Regions from separate parts of the Homo sapiens genome. Here regions 1, 3, 4, 5, 6 and 7 are each linked to region 2. Evidence: promoter capture Hi-C in 16 types of primary human blood cells and fetal thymus (Javierre and others, 2016). All regions are on one chromosome and are shown on one strand. The core of a region is centred on a gene start or on the middle of the fragment in contact, and the rest is flanking DNA. Distances in the headings are between cores, read along the strand shown.

Region 1 (3,151 bases), core at 57-2,556, 180 kb after region 2:
TCTGGAAGCATACAATCTCTATACCTCTATCACCATCGCCACCCTACCCAGCTCCAGAAAACTTGAGAATATGTCTAGGTTCATGAGACTTTTCCTTTACCATGGTCAGCTTTCTCGTTCAATCTAAAAGACACCAATTGTTTCCTCATCTCCATTATCTCTTTTACCTTGTGGAACTACTTACTAGACAGACTAGACTAGCCTCCATTTGTCAATATTTATTTCTCATACTTGTAACTATTTGTCCCTCTGAGTTTCATCCTGGGAGAATTCCTTGATACATTTTCTAGCTAACTCACTCTTCAACAGTACCTATATTCTGCTAGTTGGTATCTTCCAAGAATTTCATTTCCATAGGTAATCAAGATTATTTTATCATATTTTAAGGAGACATGAAGATATCAATTATACTAATTAAACATTTAGTTTAACTCTAATGAATCTTATCTATATACTCTGCCTCCCATATACTATGTACTTCTCTCCATGTCTATAAGAACAACAAAGAATCCAAGAGGATTCTTTGGATTGATTAGGGGGGTTGATTAGTATACCACCCTCCCAAAGAGCCTCCTATATCTGAAAGATAAGCCTCCCAATTATTTATGACCATTACATGTATGAGTATTTTTAAATTTTATTTGTATTTTATTGAGGCAAAGTCTCACTCCGTTGCCCAGGCTGGAATGCAGTGGCATGATCTCAGCTCACTGAAACCTCTGCCTCCCAGGTTCAAGTGATTCTCCTGTCTCAGCCTCCTGAGTAGCTGAGATTACAGGCACACACCACCACACCCGGCTAATTTTTGTATTTTCAGTAGAGCTAGGGTTTCACCTTGTTGGTCAGCTGGACTCAAACTCCTGACCTCAAGTGATGCTCCCACCTCGGCCTCCCAAAGTGCTGGGATTACAGGCGTGAGTCACCACGCCTGGCCATGTGAGTATTTTTTTAAAGGAGGGTTGCAGAATCCCAAAAGAATTCATCTTTTGCAGTCCTTTTTTTTTTTTTTTTGCGAGACAAAGTCTTGCTCTGTTGCCCAAGCTGGAGTGCAGTGGTGCGATCTCAGTTCACTGCAACCTCCGCCTCCTGGGTTTAAGCAATTCTCCTGCCTCAGTCTCCATGTTGGCCAGGCTAGTCTCAAACTCCTGACCTCGTGATCCGCCTGCCTCGGCCTCCTGAAGTGCTGGGATTACAGGCATAAGCCACCGCGCCCGGCCGTCTTTTGTAGCCCTTGAAAGCTCTAGCATACTTCATATCTAATTATGATTTGATTTGATTTTTTCAACGCTTTCATGAACTTTCATGGTTAGCCATTCTGTATGCTGTGTTCTTTCCCACATTCACTCAAAAAACTGACCTGTTAAACTCATTCTTAGTTCCGATGAACATCTTCTAAGTAAGGCTTTCCTAATACATGACACTCTGACATCAAATAACTAAACATCAGTCAAATAATAATATGATGCAATATTGCTTTATAATATTAAGTAGTTATGCAATGTTTAAATAACTCCAATCAGAGGCATGAATACTCACATGCTGTAAGAGGAACAACTCCCAACCATGCAAAGGCCACAAGTGTATAATGAAACCAATATCGTATTGCAGTGCCAATACTTGTAACCAGTCCAGCAAATATGTCTTGAATTGGAAGCCGTGAAGGCATATCTGGAGAATAAACTATAAGCGGAAAAAAAGTACTTACAGTTTCATGAAGATTCGAAAATAGCTTAATTCATAAATATAAAATAGACATTAACTAAACTTCCAATATTTGCCTTGTGCTTAATTTTTTTCCTATTTAAAAAAAATAAACCAAATAGTTATAATATCACATTTACCCAAGAAGTCATTTATGAGGCAAATCACATGTGAAACGTGGAAATCAACAAAGGCCTCTGGGCAGGAAAAAAAAATTCAATAGATGTTCACATCCCTTGCTAATAGCCATGAACCTCATACAAGGCCCATTTACACACATTTTAACATTCAACCAATATAATCATCTGGTTTCCCAAACTATAAAAGATGTAATAAAGCAAACAGGAGCAAAAGATGAAGCTGACAACAAGCCATCAACACTCCCCCAAATATAAGCATTAAATAGCACTCAAAAAGCACAACAGTCCGCAGCAGATCATTTCATGTGGGAGCAAACATCCCACTGACATTTGTTAGCCACTTTCCCGATGTTAGCATAATACTTAAAATTTCAAATGATAAATTCAGATCTTCCCACTACTCTGAGAAATGTGGCTCAACACATTCAGAAAAAGAAAAGTTCTGCCACATTTAAAAAGGATTCCCTTTTAAAATGGTTCCAATAAAAAACCACTGCCTATTATCAAAAACCTCTACCACAGGTAGCTCGGAAAGAACATAAAGGAAAAACAAACAATTCTTTCTCCAGTAAGGCCAAAACAAGAAATTATGATATATCAGGGTTTAAAAGCAATGATCTAAAATTTATAAGAACACTATCACAAAACTGTTCACACCTATAAACATTGAGAAATAAACAACTGACAAATAGCACCTTTTTTTTTTTTTTTTGAGTCAGAGTCTCACTCTGTTGCCCAGGCTGGAGTGCGGTGGCATAATCTCAGCTCACTGCAAACTCCGCCTCCCAGGTTCAAGTGATTCTCCTGCCTCAGGCTCCCAAGTAGCTGGGATTACAGGCGTCTGCCACCACACCTGGCTGATTTTTGTATTTTCAGTAGAGACAGGGTTTCCACCATGTTGGCCAGGCTAGCCTCAAACTCCTGACCTCAGGTGGTCCGCCTGCCTCAGCCTTTCAAAGTGCTGGAATTACAGGGGTGAGCCACAGCACCTGGCCACAAATAGCAACTTTTAATGGCACATGCCCACAGATCATTGACTTCGATAGGATATCTGGTATACAAGAGCAAGTCATTAAAACCAGGAATAATAGAGATTTTTTGCAAAAGATAAAAGAAATAGAGAATGTAACTATCAAATGAAAATTAAAATGTACAAAACAAGCTTCTATTGGCCTCAAAGTAAAAGCCCACATATTTCCTATCAACTGAATTTCATGAAGATACTCAACTAGTTAGTCTTAGTTTCCTATGAATCTTGACAAGCTGTACAGCTTTTACGTACTACAGAAAATTAATGACTACAAAATAAC
Region 2 (2,998 bases), core at 434-2,933:
ACCGTGGTCACTCTGCAGTTTTCCCTTGAAGTGCTTTGCTTGGTGGAAGGTGTTCCACCAGCCAGTCCTTCTCAGGTCTTCTTAAGCCAACTTTTTTTCTTTTCCTTTCTTTTCTTTTCTTTTCTAAACATCTCGTTTTCTCTGAATCTGGTCATAACGAAAGGATAGCCTGTGCCTGCCTCCACGCCTCCTGCCCTACCCGGGTGGATGCCCGCGGCTCTGGGGCTCTCCCTATGCCCTGACTCTGGGGAGCCCCGGCTGGCATTGGCTCGCGAAGGTGACCTGCGGACAGACCAGTCAGAGATCACGTTGGCTGGTCGCGGCGCGGGCCACAAAGCTCAGCGGAGGTGGGGTAGGGGACCAAGCTGTCCCGGCGAGGGAAGAAACTGTTGCTTCCAAATCATTGCGGCTGGAGGAGCCGATCTGCGCCCCAGCGTGTTAGGACAAGGGCGGCGCGAGGGGCCCAGGGGCCAAATGGGGCGCTGGGCAGGAGGGGCTGTCTCCTGCAGGGGAGGAGGAATGGTCCCCTGCCAGGGACCTGGGGAAAGGTAATAGTCAGGAGGGGACCGGGCCGCAAGAAGCCCATCCTGGATTGCAGCACGGGCAGCCAGCGCGAATTCAGTCAGGAGGTCCACGGGGACCGGTAAACGAGAAGGGGATGCGGTGAGGACGCCGGACTGGCGTTTCTGCCGCGCTGACACCTCGACTGCTCCCTCCCCGCACCGCGTCCCCCAGCCTGAGACGGGGAAGCCACCCAGGGCACCGCGCTCCCAAACAGCGGGGAAAAGGCGCTCTGGGCGGCGGCTGAGTGACCGAGGGACCGGTCCGGAGCCAGGAGCTGGGAGGCGCGGGGATGTGGTGGGGAGGAGGGGAGTGGGGGCAGTGAGGGGGCTCAAATCCTGCGGGGACGCCCGCTTACCCTGCCGTTGCGGTCAGTCTCCTGCGCCTCCTCGACGCTCACCCCGCGCCGCACCAGCGTCCGCAGCAGCCCCACGTTGTTGGCGCAGGCGGCGCGCAGGAGGGTCGCCGTCTCCGGGACGCTTTCCGGGACGCCCTCCGGGACGCTCTCCGCGCTCTCGACGCCGTGCTCCTCCTCGTCCTCGAAAGGGTAGAAAGAGTCGTCCGAGGCGATGCTGCGGGTGTCTGGCAGACTCGAGAAGTCCTCAAACTCTTCGTAGTCAGCGGGGTCCTCCTCGACCTGCGCGCCCCGGGGTGGGGACGGCGGTGGTGGGGTCATGCAGCGCGCCCCGCCGCCCTCCGGCCCGGTCCCGGCCAGCAGCACCATGCCGGCGGCCGGGGCGCGGGCCGGGGGCCGGGGCGCGGGCAGGAAGAGCGGGACGCGGGGCGCGCGCCGAGGTCCCCGCTTCTCGCTTCTGCGTCCCCAGAGAAGCCGTGGCCCGCGCGCTCCAGCTCGGCGGAAACCGGCACCAGGCGGCTGCGCTCAAAGAAAAAAGTCTCCGGAGGCTGAGCGAGCCCCTGGGGTGGGCGGGACCGCGGGGGCTTTCCGAGGCGGGGCGGGGCGGGGCGCGGGGACACGCCTTCCCCCGGGGCCTTCCCCTCGCGCCCCTTCCTGGCCAGAGTTCAGAGCCAGGCAGGCGCTCTCTCGAGCGCGGGGACTGGGCACCTGGCAGCGTTGCCCCAGAGCTGGGGACAGCTGGCGCGGGAGAAGCAGAAGCAATCACTAAAGAAGCCGAACCCGAGTCGCGGGCGGCAAGCGGCCCCGCCCCTCCCTCCGCCGGCCCGCGGGATGGGGGCGGAGGTGGCGGCGGGGGGACGCCGGGGCGGAGCCGGCCTCCAGCTTCGGGAACCTCGGACCCCTGGAGCCGGCCTCCGCCGAGGGCGTCGGGCCCCCGGACCTGGGTGGGGCCGGTTTCTCCCGCCGCTTCAGAGGAGCAGAGCGGGTTTTCTCCCTTCGGGGGATCCCGGGCTTCGGGGCTGACTCCACCCGGCCGCGGCCGCTTGGAGGCCGGGGAATCCCCGGGGCGCTTGGCGGGCAGAGGAGCCGGGCGCGGGAGCGGAGCCGTCCACCTGGGACCTGTGCCCGGGGAGCGCTGCGGGCCGGGCCACTCTGAACTGGGGGCGGTCGGCTGCTGTGGGGGAGTCCCAGCCCGGAAGGGAGGACAATCCTCAGAGTCCCCCGTCTCGCGGAACCGGGGCCGGCCGTGGCTTGAGGGTTGGTCAGATCCTGGGATGGGGGGCGGGGTGTTCCGGAACCTCAGGGAGCATCTGAGTGGGAACGGACGACGAGGAACTCCCCGTCCCCATGCCTGGCCTGTGTCACGTGCGGGGATCTGCGGACTCACCCCCGGAGGCTGCGACTGGGCGCTGACCCCACGTCTGGCTGCCCAAAAGAGCAGGGCCGCGGGCGACAGCCGCAGTCCAGGCCCACAGCCCCTCTGGCCCGGCCTTGCCCTCTCCCCGTCAGTCCTGGCGCCGGGGATGGGCGGGGAGGAGGAGGGCGTGTGAGGATTTGCCACAGGGAGCCCTTGACTTCGGGGTAGGAGGCGTCGTGAGCCAATCTTGGGGGAAGGTCTCTGCGCAAAGGCGCGGAGGTGCGCTCGCGCCCGTCGCAGGTCAAAGACTGCGGAGGCCACCAGCCCTGTGTCCCCCTAGCCTCCTTCCTTCCTTTTTTTCCCCCGATCTTGACAGCGTGTCCACCAGCTGCCAGCCGGTGGGAGGCCCTCGCGGCCCCAAGGTGAACACAGCTAGGCTGGCGCAGCCGCTGGGGACCAGGCTTGAGGCCCACGTGCCGCTGGGCAAGCTGAGGGGCACGAGGGCACCGAATCCGAAACAGCCGTGGGAGGTGTAGGATGAGGACACGTTTAAACTGCGAAGCCGCTCGAGCCCTCGTGTCACACCGCACTGGCCCGACCCGCTGTCCTGGTCGCCTGGTCTTCCAGTGTCTCCAGCAGGAGCCAAAGGGCCTGCTGGCGGCCCCCGACCCGGCATCTGCAGGGCCCCGGAGGGTGGGGCGCGCGGGAGCACCGATTTCTGGTGA
Region 3 (2,970 bases), core at 1-2,500, 170 kb before region 2:
AGAATTCATCTTTGATATCCTGTTTTTCATTTCCACTTCCATTTGGCTTTTAAAAATGTATAGCTTCCATTTCTCTGCTGAAATTTCCTGTCTTTTCACAGATATTTATCACAGTTATTTTAAATCTTCATCTGATGAGTCCAACATCCAGGCTTGGTCCCTCATTCTGTTAACTGTTTGTTTCTTTACAGTGGGTCACATCACTTCTTCGAGGGTCTTTTAATTTTTAAGTAAAGTAAAACCTGGTGTGTAAAAGAATGACAGAGACAGAAATAACACTAGAAGCTGAAGTAAATAATATTTACATCAGTCCAGAAAACAGCATGCCTTTTCTGTTCAAACCCATTCGTGTGTGTGTGTGTGTGTGTGTGTGTGTGTGTGAGTTAATTTAGTATTTATAGTTGAACCGGGCCTGGGCTGTATTGCTGCTTAAGTTAGATTCAAGACCTCACAAATATCAAATTAATTGAAGGTAGGATTATAACCTTCCCACTTGTAGTGGCTTAGGATATGAATGCCTGGAAGGTGTGTCTATTTTCCTGCCCTGCCATTGGACTTCAGCAGGCTCTGTGTGTGTGCTGAGCCTTGTGGGCGAGAGCCTTTCAGTTCCCTCATCCCTTTCCAACCAAGATGGACCTCTTCTTGGTCCTGGGTGAGGCCTAGAGTGCCAGTGGGAATCATAATATTTGCCTCATGTGATTATAATTCACTGGTCAATTAGACAACATATAAAAACACCTCAACCATCTCAGTCACGTATTAAGTGATAGCTGTTATTACATCTGTGGTGATTTTTTAAAACTTTTTGTTTTGAAATAATTTCAGACATACAGAAAAATTGCCAAAAAAAAAAAGTACTAAAAAAATCCCATCTACCCCTCACCATATTCCTCATATGGTAAAATTTCACCACACTTGCTGCTCCTCCCATTTCTTTCTTTCTTTTTTTTTTTTTTTTTTTTTTTTTGATTCAGAGTCTTGCTCTGTCACCCAGGCTGGAATGCAGTAGTGCGATCTCGGCTCTCTGCAAGCTCCACCTCCCAGGTTCACGCCATTCTCCTGCCTCAGCCTCCCCAGCAGCTGGGACTACAGGCACATGCCACCACGTTCGGCTAATTTTTTGTATTTTTAGTAGTGACAGAGTTTCAGCGTGTTAGCCAGGATGGTCTCGATCTCCTGACCTTGTGATCCACCCTCCTCAGCCTCCCAAAGTGCTGGGATTACAGGCATGAGCCACTGCACCCAGCCCTGCTCCTCCCATTTCTTAACGCTCACATATATCTAAATCTACATCTGTCTGTTTATACGAACTTTCTTCTGAAGAGCTCTTTTACTCTGGAATGCTTTAGTGTGTGTTTACTAAAAGCAAGTACTGTATAATTATCAAAATCAGGAAACTAACATTGAAACAGTAGTGTTATCTAATCTACAGACTCTTCAGACTTGGCCCATTTTCCCACTACTGCCACAAATTTCAGTCCAGGATTATACCTTCATTTAGTGATATATCTTTAGTCGCCTTTAATCTAGAACAGTTATCCAGCTTTTTAAAATCTTTCATGACCTTGACATGTTTGAAGAGTATAGGTCATTTATTTTGTAGGATTTTCCTCAGTTCAATTTTTCTGATGTGCCTTCATGATTGGATTCAGGTCCTGCTTTCAGGGCAGGGGCTGCACAGAAGCGAGGTCTTGTCCTTCTTGATGCATTGGATCAGGAGGTACACGACACTCCCCATCTCATGGCCGGTGATGCCAGCTTTGATTGTTCAGTTAAGATGGCATCTGCCAAGTTTCTCCACTATCAATTTACTATTTTACCCTTTGTAATTCATACATATCTCATGGGGGAATACTTTGCAACTCTATGAGTATTGTGTTTCTCATCAAACTTTTGCCTGCTACTTTCAGCATTCACTGATGATGCTTGCCTGAAACAGTAACTACTGCAGATATACTGTATTTGTTTCCCAGGGCTGCCTTAACAAAATGCCACAACCTGGGTGGCTTTAAATAACACATTTGTCATCTCAGTTCTGGAGGCCAGAATGCTGAAAGCAAGGTGTTGGCAGGTTGGTTGCTTCTGAGAGCTGTGGGAAGCATGTGTTCCATGCTGCTCCCCTAGCTTCTGGTGGTTTCTGCAATCTCTGGCATCCCCTGGCTTGTAGATGCATCACTCCAGTCCTGTGCCTTTACATGGTTTCTCCCTGTGTCTCTACATCATCTTTCCTCTTTGTGTGTCTTTGTGTCCAAATTTCCCCTTTTCATAAGGACACTGGTCATATTGGATTAGGACCCATCCTGATGACTTCATTTTAACTGGATTAATAAAGATCCCACTTCCAAATAAGCTCACATTCTGAAGTACTGGGAGTTAGGATTTCAGCATGCCTTTTTTGGAGGACACAAGTCAACCCGTAGCAGATGCCAAATGGTGATCTATAGCAATTTTTAATGGTTCTCTCAGTCAAGTTCATTGTTAAGATAATAAATAGAAAATTTAAAACTTCAGTTAAAAGATGGCCCAGCAATGTGCCAGCTTAAATCTCAGGCATGTATGCCTGGGAATTTTTATCTTTAGCCATGATCTGCATGTTTGAACTTTAAGCCGTTTGGTGAACCAATTTCAACATTACCCTTAAGTTCTAATGTCACCTTTTATATCCAGGCTAGTTGCCAGCTGCCTTTTAAGAGGGGCGTGTCCCTGTTCTCTACCATGTGTGTGGAGATTTCAGTAGACCAGGGATGCTGAGCACCGGCCAGCTCTCAGCTCCAGTTTTTTTTGTTGTTGTTGTTGTTTTGTTTTTGTTTTTGTTTTTTTTTTGAGACAGAGTCTTGCTCTGTCGCCCAGGCTGGAGTGCAGTGGCGTGATCTCAGCTCACTGCAAGCTCTACCTCCCAGGTTCAAGTGATTCTCCTGCCTCAGCCTCCCGAGTAGCTGGGATTACAGGCTACATGCCACCATGCCCAGC
Region 4 (2,808 bases), core at 195-2,694, 210 kb after region 2:
TACTCTAGCCTGGGCAAAAAGAGCAAAACTCTGTCTCAAAAAAAAAAAAAAAAAAAAAACACACACACATACAACTTTTGACTCCCGAAAAACTACTAATGGAAAACTACTAACAGCCTACTGGTGACCAGAAGCCTTCCCATAACATAATACAACATAAACAGTAGATTAATACACATATTGTACTACTTTTTTTTTGAGACGGAGTCTTGCTCTGTTGCCCAGGCTGGAGTGCAGTGGCGCGATCTCGGCTGACTGCAAGCTCCGCCTCCCACGTTCACGCCATTCTCCTGTCTCAGCCTCCCAAGGAGCTGGGATTACAGGCACCCGCCACCACATCCAGCTAATTTTTTCTATTTTTAGTAGAGACAGGGTTTCGCCATGTTGTCCAGGCTGGTCTCGAACTCCTGACCTCAGGTGATCTGCCTGCCACCGCCTCCGAAAGTGCTGGGATTACAGGCGTGAGCCACCGCACCCAGCCTTTGTATTACATTATACTAGGTATTATGAGTACTCAGGAGATTATTTAAAGTACAGATCTGTGAACATCACAGTTTGAACTACATGGGTCCACTTATACGCGGATTTCTTTCTTCAATAAATATATTGGAGAATTTTTTGGAAATTCACAACAATTTAAAAAAAGATGAACTGTGTAGCTTAGAAGGAGCAAAAAAAATAAAATTATGCCATGAATGCATAAACTGTATTATATGTATTGCGTACTGTATTATATGCTGCATTCTTACAATATGTATTGTAATATTATATACTGTATTCTATATTATATACTTTATTTTTACAATAAAGCTAGAGAAAAAAATTAAGAAAATCAGAAGGAAATTACATTTACAGCACTGTACCATATTTATTGATACCTGTCTGTTTACAAGATAAATCATTCTGAAATGGCCAGCAACCACAGCTACAAACCTCAATCTATGGCACATATGAAGCAATTCGACTTTTTCTTCATAATGTCATGCCTTTTTTCAGCTTCCTGGAGCACTTCCAGCATCACTTAGTGGCACCTCATATGGATCCCATCATGTTATTCAAAGTTTAGGGTACTGCACTAAATGCAATGAAAAATACAAGAGAATCCAGAGAGATACTTTTTACCATATACAATTTACTGGAGAGATGAGCTCCAACAACAGCAACACTTGAGCTCACAACAACAGCAACGGAAGGTGGCCACAAAATTATTACAGTAGCACAGTATGCACTACGGTTAATTTCATGCAGTTATGATTTAATACTGTATCTTTAAGTTTCTTTACATCTCTCAACTGTGAATGGTGCCATGTACAGTCTCCATTACATGTTTGTGTGTGTAAGTTTTGATAAATTTTAACATTTCATGACAGATTTGTATATATTTTATGATAGTGAGTAAAAGACTAGTATCTACATATATTTTATGCATTAATGACATAACTTTTTAACTTTCTCACTATTTCTAGACTACACAGTTCATCTGCAAGTTTTTTCAAATTGCTGCAAATCTCCAAAATTTTTTTCAATATATTTATTGAAGAAAAAAATCCATGTGTAAGTGGACCCATGTAGTTCAAAAACCCATGTTGTTCAAGAGTCAACTGTACTTTAAATTATCTCTAGATTACTTAGAATAATTATAACATAAATGTTATGTAGTCATCATACTGTATTGTTTGAGGAATAATGACAAGAAAAAAAGGCTGTACATGTTCAGTACAGAGGTAATCATCTATTTTTTTCCAAGTATTTTCCATCTGACATTGGATGAATCCACAGATGCGAAACCCACAAATACAGAAAGCTGGCTGCATATCAAGACAATTTATGTCTCACGTCAGCTCAAAACCCTCCCATAGCTCCCTATCTCACTATAAAAGTCAATGAAGTCCTACATGCTCTCTCCCCATTGGCTCCATATCTTTCTGACCTCATATTATACTTACTCTTCTCCAACTCTTTTACTCCGTTACAGCTACACTGCTCTCCTGGTGATTTATTGAACACTCTAGGCATGCTCCCATCTTAGACACTTCACATAGGCTATGTTCCCTCTGCCTGGAATGCTCTGCCCAGAGTATCTGCATGGCTAACTCCTTCTCCTTTGCTCCTTCTCAGTGAGGCCTTCCTTTACTGCTATATTTAAAACTGCGACCCCTAGTGAGCCAAGATCGCGCCACTGCACTCCAGCCTGGGTGACAGAGCAAGACTCCGTCTCAAAAAAAAAAAAAAAAAAAGCAACCCATGCCCTCATATCCTGGCACTTCTTATTCCCTCCCAATTCACTGTTCTCCACAGCGTTTATAACCTTCTAGTTATGCCATATAATTTACATGTTTATTTTGTCTTAAGCTAATAACTATAATGTAAGCTCTATGAAAGAAAGGATTTTCTCTATATTGTTCCTTGCCTAGCCCAAATGCATAGAATAGTGCCTGGCTCATAACAGGTCCTCAGTAAACATTTAACGAATAAATGCATGTACACTTGGTCACAAGCATGCCAAAACAGTGAAAGGTAATGCGTGGTAAGAAACATGCAGCAGACATCTCTGGAAACAAAGAAGACTGTGTGGGTCTAGAAAGAGAGGAACTAGCTGTCTGATTCTGACAACTTTCTATCCTTTTAACTCATTTCTTCCAAATTTAAGTTACCTCAAATTTTTGCCATAGTGATATAGAACATGATCAACCATAATACTCTTTAGCTTCACACTTTTCGAATGAATATGTTCCGTAAAGCATAAAGAACAGCTGCTTTGGTATTCTGTAATAAAATTACTAAGACTTTGTATTATGTTGTGCTAAT
Region 5 (2,883 bases), core at 250-2,749, 210 kb before region 2:
TGCATGTGTGTGCGTACATGCCCTGTAGCTCCTGCAAGCAGTTGTCTGAAGCAGCCTCTGTCCTCTGCCACACACATATTTTCTCTTTCTGCCTAACACATCTTTCTCTTCCATCTCAGCCCATCAGAACAGAGCTGGGCCTTCACTAGTCTGGACGATCAGCTGCTCAGAGCCTTGCATACAGTGGGAGGCTGAGGAATGTTCTTTCTAGAAGAATGTGAGTATCAGGGGCAACTCCAACCACATCTTTTCCCTTCTCTTGTCTGCCTCTCCTTCCTTACCTTTCAAATTCACATCTGGGAACCTTTAAAGAGAAAAAGACGCCTGGACTGGGAGGCTGGTGGGAATGAGGAAGGAGGGAGAGCCGTTGCTGCCTGTTTGCCTAGCAGTGGTAGAGAGTTTGTGGACTGGCCGTGGATGTCAGAGCCTGGGGGCTTCTCTAGGATCTTCTGAAGGGCCTCTTCCTTCTCACCAGTGAAAACCTAGACTGATCTCCAAGACCTGAGCCTTTGTATAGCTTTTGGGTTTTGTCAGGCCTCTGCAGCTACTGTTTAGGCCATTGGGGCAGCAGCCTGAGTCACCACTCAGGGTTAGAGATGAGGGCCAGAGCCCTGGCCTTCTCTCTGTTCCCTGAGGCTGTGCTGCACCAGCCTAACATGTGCTCACAGTTTGCCTGTGTTGTTCTATAGTCTTTAAACATAATAGCTTCTTTAAACAAGGGCCCACTGAGGCAGGCCCCTCATATTCCCATTTCACTCTTGAAGAAACTGAGGTATGAATAGGTGAAGTAACTTGCCCCAAATCTTACAGCCAGCAAGTGGCAGAAGCAGAATTGGAAGACAAAGTTCCAGGTTCCCAGCTAAATCTCTAACCTGCCACTCACGGGCCGGAAGCAATGTTTCCGTTTATTTGCTAGTTTCCATAATCTCTATTGTGAATCTCTCTTCAATCAGTTTTGTGTCTTAAACGTAACCAAAGAAATCCAAACTTCCCAGGCTAAGCTGAGGATCTTGGTGTGGAGTCCACTCCTGCTGTGGGGCCTCTAACTCTTGCTCCACTCCATGCCCTGACTTGGTTGCAACCAGGAGATGGCTCCCTGTGCAGACTCAACAGGTTAAAGCTGGAGGAGCCATCCATCTCTGAACACAGCCCCTTGCTCTACCCTGGGGGAATCGAAAGCCAAGAGAGTAGGAGATTCATCAAGGTAGAATGCTGGATTCAGGCTCAGCCAGCCCGTCTCAGGCCCATCTTGTGTTTGTCCCTCCACCTGAGGGTGCAGACTGGGCTCTGCTGGCAGGTGGAGAGTGGGTATATGGGAGCCCCTAGACAGGGGACAGATCATTGCTGTTGGCCACTGGGAGGAGCTGCAGCAAGAAGCACAGAAGCATGTCTTAGAGCCATTCCAGGGCATGATGGAGCTGCAGATAGATACCCACATAAGTGTGGGCATTGGCAAAGCGATGTGAACACTGGGGCTGGGGTCTCTCTGTTCTCCCCAAAGACCCAAGACCTCGCAGAACTATGATAAGGCTAGAGGAAGACTTATTTTTATTTCATTTTTTTCTTTTTTACCTCTAAGGTGATGCCTCGTGCAAAGCTGGTGCTCAAAATATATGATTATGGATGGATAGGTCAACAAAGACATAAACAGCAACAACCCTGGCTGCTCGGCCCTTTTGCTCTCGTCATTGGCTTCTTTTTCCAGAGCATGCATCTTCTAATAGGTCTAACCCCAACAGTGATCAAATGGGACCTCTGTTCTATTCCTTTCTTAACTGTAATCATGAGTTTCACACGGCTGTCATTTTACTGCCTGCTAGGAAAAGGGAATATGTTTGAATTTTATAAGTTTCTGAATTTCATAATTTTTTTATTTTTAGAGGTGCTCCAGGCTGACTCCATACCTCCCACTGAATGACAATTGTTCTAAAGGTAGACATTCTTATTTCATCATCAAGAAAAGCACTCTGTAGTGAACAAGGGCACTCACGCAATTGGATTCATGGAGAGATGTTTGTTTTTCTCCCACTTGTTTACTGTTGCTGGTGTTAGATCAAGTCTGGCCTTTACTATTCCATTAAAAAATGACCATTTGTGATTAGATATTTACAAAAATATATTCAGAATGATATATTTCAGATATTACATTTTTTCTAACAGTTCGTTTTAGTTTTGAATAGAAGCCTTAAAATACTTGGCCAGGTGCGGTGGCTCACGCCTGTAATCCCAGCACTTTGGGAGGCCGAGGCAGGCGGATCATGAGGTCAGGAGATCAAGACCATCCTGGCTAACACGGTGAAACCCTGTCTCTACTAAAAATACAAAAAATTAGTCGAGCGTGATGGCGAGTGCCTGCAGTCCCAGCTACTCGGGAGGCTGAGGCAGGAGAATGGCATGAACCCGGGAGGAGGAGGCTGCAGTGAGGCGAGATCGCACCACAGCACTCCAGCCTGGGTGACACAGTGAGACTCCATTTCATAAATAAATAAATAAATAAATAATTGGAAAAGTAAGAGTTAAAAATAAATCATGGAAAATCATAAAGTGATTCATTATCTGAAATACTTTCTGAGTACAAAGCACTTTGTTTCCTCTTCTTTGCTGATACCTGCATGTGAGCTAAAATGTGAAGGAAGGCATTTGTGATCTGATTTTGTGTCTACAAATGTCTATGCCTAACCTTGAGCTGCTGCCTTTGTTGGTGTGTGAAGTGATGCAGCAGAGCAGGGGATGGCAAACCTTCTGCAAAGGGCTAGAGTCAATTTATTGTACTTTGGGGGCCAAATGTGTCTGCCACGACTCCTCAACCCCGCCATTGTAGCCAAAAAGCAGCAATGAACAATATGTAAAGAAATGGGCATGACTGTGTTCCAATAAAACTTT
Region 6 (3,019 bases), core at 428-2,927, 160 kb after region 2:
ACCACTGACAAAATAAATCTTCGGAGATGCCTATATATTGGCAAATGGATCATTTCCTGTACTGGATTGAAATCTGGATCATTCAAATTCCTTAGAAACCACAGGACACCAGGTCGAAGTACCTGCAAATATATTTTAAATACTATGAATATTCACCAATGTCTTCAAATTCTATATATGAGCTAAAACATTAACAGAAAGATAAGCACTTAGAATTATTCTGGCATCTAAAGTGGGCCCCAGAAAATGTACATGGTATTCTTAGGAAAGTAAGTTCCTAAACCAGAATCTTTATGAAAACTACCCTGTGTCTGATGATGTCCTTTGACATCATCATTCACTAGGGGCGGGGGAAAAAAAAAACATTCATTGGGTCCAATGTGTCAAGAAATCTAGACCTCTGAGACGAAAAATAAATACAACCATTACTATCGTAAAAGGGTTATGTTGCAATTTATAAATGTACTAAATAGACGGTCTGATTTGCCTTCCCCCTGTAAATGAAAATCATCACCCAAGAGGCTGCAGGTGATGGGGTAAAGGAGGAGTCTGGGTACTAGTTCTATGTGGTCCAAACTCACTGAGTTACCCTCTGTGTAACGCATCTAATCTGCCCAAACTTCTATTCTCCATCTCCTAAACAAGGGGTTACAGTGTGTGATTTCTAAGGTTCTGCCTAAGTTCCACATATTAAAATTTTATATCAACAAAAACCACCACACTGATAAAATGAAAGAAATCATTATAAAGCATTTTATTCACTTAATGAAGTAATCTGGAGTTCACATATAATTACATTTTTAAGAAACACATTTCTGTACTTGCTTTAGTTCTCAATCAGTTGTTTCAAAGAAAGAATGAAAGCTTTAGTTACCAAGAGAATTTACTGAAATTATACCGTATGATTCAGGAGAATGCTTTGGTCCCTGACCCCTCCTCCTCTTCCTCAAATCTTTCAAAGAACAAAGTACACCAAGAGCAGCATTCAGCCTTTGTGCTTTTGTGTTCCCTTCTCACTGGAATTGTCAACCTGGTCCTCCACACCCTGCACATCTCCATCACCCGTCTCCGTGTAAACCAACATTTTCAATGCTGTATTCATTTTCAGGCTATAAAATCGAGGAGAACAGGAATTGTGCCTTTGTTTCTCACTGAAACCCCAGAATGCAGTATAGTGTCCGGCACACAGTGACCATTCAGTATTTGGGGAATGACTGAGCTTGAGATGTACACTAATCAAATACTCAACTGCTTTCATCATCTTCAAATCACTAAGAACCAGATTAGAAACATAGAACTAATAAAGGTATCAGGCCAGGCACAGTGGCTCACACCTGTAATCCCAGCACTTTGGGAGGCCAAGGTGGGTGGATCATTTGAGGTCAGGAGTTCAAGAACAGCCTGGCCAACATGGTGAAACCCTGTCTCTACTAAAAATACAAAAATTAGCCGGGCATGGTGGTGGGTGCCTGCAGTCCCAGCTACTTGGGAGGTTCAAGCAGGAGAATCACTTGAACTTGGGAGGTGGAGGTTCCAAGATCATGGCACTACATTCCAGCCTGGGCAACAGAGCAAGACTCAGTATCAAAAAGTAAATAAGTAAATAAATAAATAAATAAATAAATAAATAAATAAATAAATAAATAAAGGTAATCCATCAGGCCAGTGAACTGGAATCATAAAGGACCCTCATTGTAATTCTATACTTAAGGCGCCTAAATCAAAATGATTTTACATGTCTGATCCTGCAAAACCATATCCTTTTGGTTATTTCCAGCAGTACAGTTCCTTGAAGTCTGAGACACACTCACATCATACAAAATTCCAAGAGTCTGTATTAGAGGATGGCTAAAGTATATACGAAGTGTGACAAAATGAGTACTCTTATCTTTTTCCTCAGTTGAATCGTCTTTCAAACTCAGACAGAAATATTAAAACTTGCCAATTATGGAGACAAACAACTGAAACAGTTTAAAGTAATTAAGTCAAAGTCCCCTATAAGTTATTCCCTCTTAGAATAAAATAGTAGAGAATATGATTTAGGTAGGAAATCATCATAGCCTTTGAGACATGACTGGTGGTGAAAGCAAAAGTCCTTTTTATAAATGTACAGCATCAGCATTTCCCTGTGGACTTACCTCTCTCAGTAGTAGAATGAAGGAGGCAAAGTAGAAGACATATACCATTCCCACTAGCCAATGCAGAAACATGGTAGTACCTGGAGCCGACTGAAAGCTCAGTTCTCGATCTTTCAGAGTAGCATCAAACATTTCCTGAGACAAAAGAGGACAGGTAAGAGAAATCTGTGCCCCCTACATTTGCCAAGTTAACATTTTCATCTTCTAGGAAATAAATAATCAATATGCATGCAAGGAACAATTCCTAGAACTGCAGTTCACTTAATGTCATTCCACGGTGTCACAGAACTATATACAAGATTGGCTACTGCTTCAAATATAAAGAATGATAAACCAATTAGTAAAAGCTTTATTAATACTGATTCTATTAAAGAACTATTTTTGATGAATGTAAAAAATTTTCTTGGTTATAGGTCTGCATTCTTGAGAAGTTTTAAAAGTAAGGTATGGGAGGGTAAATGTTATCTCAGAACCAAAGGCAGCTTTTCTACACATAAAATATTTTTGAAACAATCAAAAACTGATTATCACTAACAGCAATTAAAGAGTATAATCAAGACTGAGCATATTAGTTAAATCAAATGATTAGGGTTAAATTTATTACTACAAAGACAGTTTCCTTATCAAATTATTCTCTATGTATATAATGTCTTGGCATTATCTACACAAATTTACGACAGCAAAATGGGCAATAAAATCCTCCACTATTAGAAAGATTCCACCCAAACTATCCTGACATCAAAAATTTGCACAAAGCCTCAAAAACTCAGGTACTCAAGAAAAATTAACATTAAGATCCTATACTGATACACATGCCAAAAGAATAAGCAAATTATCAAATATTTGCTTTCCTTTAAAAAGAATACATGCTGAAGACTTCC
Region 7 (3,208 bases), core at 186-2,685, 240 kb after region 2:
TTGAGACTTGTTGTAACCAATAAAATGCAGCAGAAGTGACATTGTGAAGCCTCTGAGAATAGGCCTTAAGAAGTATTGTAAATTCCATTTTTAATCACTTGGAACACCCAGGGTCCACGGATGAAAAGTCCAGCCGGCAGCTGTACCAAGGCCCCAGACATAGGAATGAAGTCATCTAGACCCTCCAGTCTCAGTGAGCCCAGATGAGACCAGCAGAATCGTGAGGAACAATACATTGTTGTTTTAAGCTACTAAGTTTTAGGGACATTTGTTCTGCAGCAGTACATAATTAATGCAAATAGTATCCTAAAAGGTGACAGGATGGATTCATTTTCCTATAAAAATAGACCTCATCTCTAAAAAGAAATGAGACATTTCCAAACTTTCCGGAACAGTAGAGTAGGGTTTCACCTTTGAAATAAGAAAGCAAGGTTGTTCAAGAAAGCCTATGATTTTAGATTCAAATGCCAAAATAAAATACTCTTTACCCACTTAACATGCCTGAGGAGTTTGATCATTGAGACTAAGAGCTAGTCAGGGAGAAAAGAAAAAGAACTTGATGCTGGGCACAGTGGCTCATGCCAGAAGTCAGGAGTTTGAGGCCAGCCTGACCAACATGGTGAAAACCCATCTCTACTAAAAATACGAAATTAGCTGAGCATGGTGGCACATGCCTGTAATCCCAGCTACTTGGGAGGCTGAGGCAGGAGAATCACTTGAACCCAGGAGGTGGAGATTGCAGTGAGCTGAGATCGCACCACTGTACTCCAGCCTAGGCAACAAGAGTGAGACCCGGCCTTAAAAAAAAAAAAAGAACTTGATAAAGGGGTTTGATGATGGTGATTGTGCCTCATTTTGCCCTTTCCAGTGCTTTGCTCGCTCCCAACTGGAAGGAGCCGGAGGCTGCCCTCCTTTGCACTTCACTGCCGTTTGCATTAGTGAAATCGTGCTCTCCCTTTCTGCCCTTTCTTCAAAGCAGCTCTCTCTGCACTAGTAGACATTGCTGTTTCCAAAAGGATGCGGTTTCCCTGTACTCTGTGGTCTCACCCTGACATCATGACATCACTTGCAAGAATTTGAATTAAAACTTATGCCCCCAGGTTATGATTTCAGGAAGAACTTCTCTGTTGTTTTAGTGGAAAAAACCCACCTGATTGGATGATACTCCTTTCATGGGTTCTCCTGAAATTAAGGAATTTGGTAACAGAGTTTATTCCTCTATTTGCCAATTCTGAGCAGCAAATACCTGGAGAAAAAAGAACAAGAAATTATTGTCAAACGTGGTGGGTTCACACCTGTAATCCCAACACTTTGGGAGGCCGAAACAGAAGGATCGCTTGAGCCCAGGAGCCCCAGCTCAGCCTGGGCAACATAGGGAGACCCTGTCTCGCCAAAAAAATACAAAAATCAGCCGGGCACAGTGGCACATGCCTCTGGTCCCATCTACTCAGGAGGCTGAGGTAGAAGGAGAGCTTAGGTCTGGGAGATGGAGGCTGCAAGTGAGCAGTGATTGTGCCATTGCATTCCAGCCTGGGCAGGAGAGCGAGACCCTGTCTCAAAAATTAAAAAAAGGAAAGAAAAGAAAAGAAATTATTGTCTATGTTATATAATATTTGTCTATTTCTGCATTTTACATTATTTTAATTTGCATACTATAAAATGGTCTCACTATGTTGCCCAGGCTGATCTCAAACTCCAAGGCTCAAGCAATCCTCCTGCTTTGGCCTCCAAAGTTTTGGATTACAGGTGTGAGCCATTGTGCCCAGCCAAAATTGACTTTCAAGTTTGGTGTACAGTTCTGTGAGTTTAACAGGTGTATAGATAGTACAGATATATGTATCCACCACCAAAATCAGGACACAGAGCAATTTCCTTCCCTCAGAAAACCCCCTCAAGTACGTTTTTGCTGTCAAACCCACCCCCGACCTCAGCCATTCACAATCACCAGGTTTCCCTTCCTGCAGGGTCACCTTTCAGAGTGACGTATCAATGGAGTCAGGTAGGTGGTAACCTTTTGAGACTGACCTCTTTCACTTATTCATTCATGTTTTAAGATGTATGAATACTTTTAAAAAAATATCTGAGTAGGCCAGGCGCGGTGGCTCATGCCTGTAATCCCAGCACTTTGGGAGGCCGAGGCGGGTGGATCACGAGATCAGGAGTTCAAGATCAGCCTGGCCAAGATGGTGAAACCCTGTCTCTACTAAAAATACAAGAAAAAAAAAAATTAGCCGGGCACGGTGGCCGGCGTCTGTAATCCCAGTTACTTGGGAGGATGAGGCAGGAGAATTGCTTGAACTCAGAGGGCAGAGGTTGCAGTGAGCCGAGATCGCACCACTACACTCCAGCCTGGGCAACAGAGCAAGACTCCGTCTCAAAAAAAAAAAAAAAAGAAAAAAAGAAAAAAAAAAGAAAGAAAATCTGAGTAGTATTTCATTATATGGGTTACTAAGATTTGTTTATCCATTCGTTCACTGAGAGATGTCTGAGTTGTTTCCAGTTAGGGGCAATTACAAATAGAGCTGCTATAAACATGTCTTCATTTTATTTTTATTTTTAAAATTTTATTTTTTCATTTTTTTATTTTTTGGGGACAGAATTTCGCTCTGTCGCCCAGGCTGGAGTGCAGTGGCACAATCTCGGCTCACTGCAACCTCCGCCTCCCAGGTTCAAGCGATTCTCCTGCCTCAGCCTCTGAGTAGGTGGGATTACAGGTGCGTGCCACCACACCCAGCTAATTTTTTGTATTTTTAGTAGAGATGGAGTTTCACCATGTTGCCCAGGCTGGTTTTGAACTCCTAAGCTCAGGCAATCCACCTGCCTCAGCCTCCCAAAGTGCTAGGATTACAGGCCTGAGCCACTGCGCCTGGCCTCTTCATTTTAATTCATAGAACTGTAATGCAATATTCACAGGCCTGGCAATTAGGAACAACAACAACAACAGTAATGCAAGGCCCGGCACAGGCACATTGAGCCCAGGAGCTCAAGGATGCAGTGAGCCATGCTCACACCACTGCACTCCCGCCTGTACAACAGAGCAAGACCCTGTCTCACAAACAACAAATAAACAAAAACCTGTAACGCTGTTGATTTCAAAGCTACTTTGTCAGCAGAAATATTAAACAGTAGTTTATGATACTTTACTTTTTATTTCAAGAATTTACTCAAGAGCCGGGCACGGTGGTTCATACCTGTAATCCCAGCACTC

What was found. Contacts are between HindIII fragments. The CHiCAGO score rates a contact against its expected background, and 5 or more counts as called.
Region 1: a contact is called between a fragment that was not itself captured here and the fragment with the promoter of ANKRD33B in region 2, in 3 of 17 cell types (neutrophils, total B cells and naive B cells). The highest score is 17.6, in neutrophils.
Region 3: a fragment that was not itself captured here is called in contact with the fragment with the promoter of ANKRD33B in region 2 in 1 of 17 cell types (total B cells); the score reaches 5.3 in total B cells.
Region 4: a fragment that was not itself captured here is called in contact with the fragment with the promoter of ANKRD33B in region 2 in 2 of 17 cell types (neutrophils and total B cells); the score reaches 14.6 in neutrophils.
Region 5: a contact is called between a fragment that was not itself captured here and the fragment with the promoter of ANKRD33B in region 2, in 2 of 17 cell types (neutrophils and total B cells). The highest score is 6.5, in neutrophils.
Region 6: a fragment that was not itself captured here is called in contact with the fragment with the promoter of ANKRD33B in region 2 in 3 of 17 cell types (neutrophils, total B cells and activated CD4 T cells); the score reaches 12.8 in neutrophils.
Region 7: a contact is called between a fragment that was not itself captured here and the fragment with the promoter of ANKRD33B in region 2, in 1 of 17 cell types (neutrophils). The highest score is 11.9, in neutrophils.

The regions. Positions count from the first base shown.
Region 1 is chr5:10,380,329-10,383,479 of GRCh38, reverse strand. It overlaps MARCHF6 (membrane associated ring-CH-type finger 6), which reads right to left. Exons shown (of 26, transcript NM_005885.4): 4 at 1,537-1,680. Among named protein-coding and RNA genes, the nearest start is that of MIR10397, 20 kb to the left of the region's middle. The HindIII fragment of the contact is 3,399 bases long and covers 1-3,005 here.
Region 2 is chr5:10,562,755-10,565,752 of GRCh38, reverse strand. ANKRD33B (ankyrin repeat domain 33B) reads right to left here and starts at 1,683. Exons shown (of 4, transcript NM_001164440.2): 1 at 920-1,683. The coding sequence starts at 1,285. RefSeq lists enhancers at 20-109, 130-179, 500-709, 1-725, 726-1,620 and silencers at 850-899, 1,240-2,099. The HindIII fragment of the contact is 7,834 bases long and covers 1-2,998 here.
Region 3 is chr5:10,737,199-10,740,168 of GRCh38, reverse strand. The region is part of intron 2 of DAP (death associated protein); the gene reads left to right. Among named protein-coding and RNA genes, the nearest start is that of DAP-DT, 22 kb to the left of the region's middle. The HindIII fragment of the contact is 5,428 bases long and covers 1-2,970 here.
Region 4 is chr5:10,357,396-10,360,203 of GRCh38, reverse strand. The region is part of intron 1 of MARCHF6 (membrane associated ring-CH-type finger 6); the gene reads right to left. Among named protein-coding and RNA genes, the nearest start is that of MARCHF6-DT, 4.7 kb to the right of the region's middle. The HindIII fragment of the contact is 7,315 bases long and covers 1-2,808 here.
Region 5 is chr5:10,774,298-10,777,180 of GRCh38, reverse strand. It overlaps CTD-2154B17.1 (a long non-coding RNA gene), which reads left to right. Exons shown (of 4, transcript NR_188230.1): 3 at 120-217; 4 at 1,881-2,540. Among named protein-coding and RNA genes, the nearest start is that of CTD-2154B17.1, 11 kb to the left of the region's middle. The HindIII fragment of the contact is 6,699 bases long and covers 1-2,883 here.
Region 6 is chr5:10,402,661-10,405,679 of GRCh38, reverse strand. MARCHF6 (membrane associated ring-CH-type finger 6) reads right to left here. Exons shown (of 26, transcript NM_005885.4): 15 at 2,139-2,273; 16 at 3-122. Among named protein-coding and RNA genes, the nearest start is that of MIR10397, 1.8 kb to the right of the region's middle. The HindIII fragment of the contact is 1,621 bases long and covers 867-2,487 here.
Region 7 is chr5:10,326,332-10,329,539 of GRCh38, reverse strand. LOC105374651 (a long non-coding RNA gene) reads right to left here. Exons shown (of 5, transcript XR_925786.3): 3 at 1,151-1,246. Among named protein-coding and RNA genes, the nearest start is that of CMBL, 20 kb to the right of the region's middle. The HindIII fragment of the contact is 4,718 bases long and covers 1-3,208 here.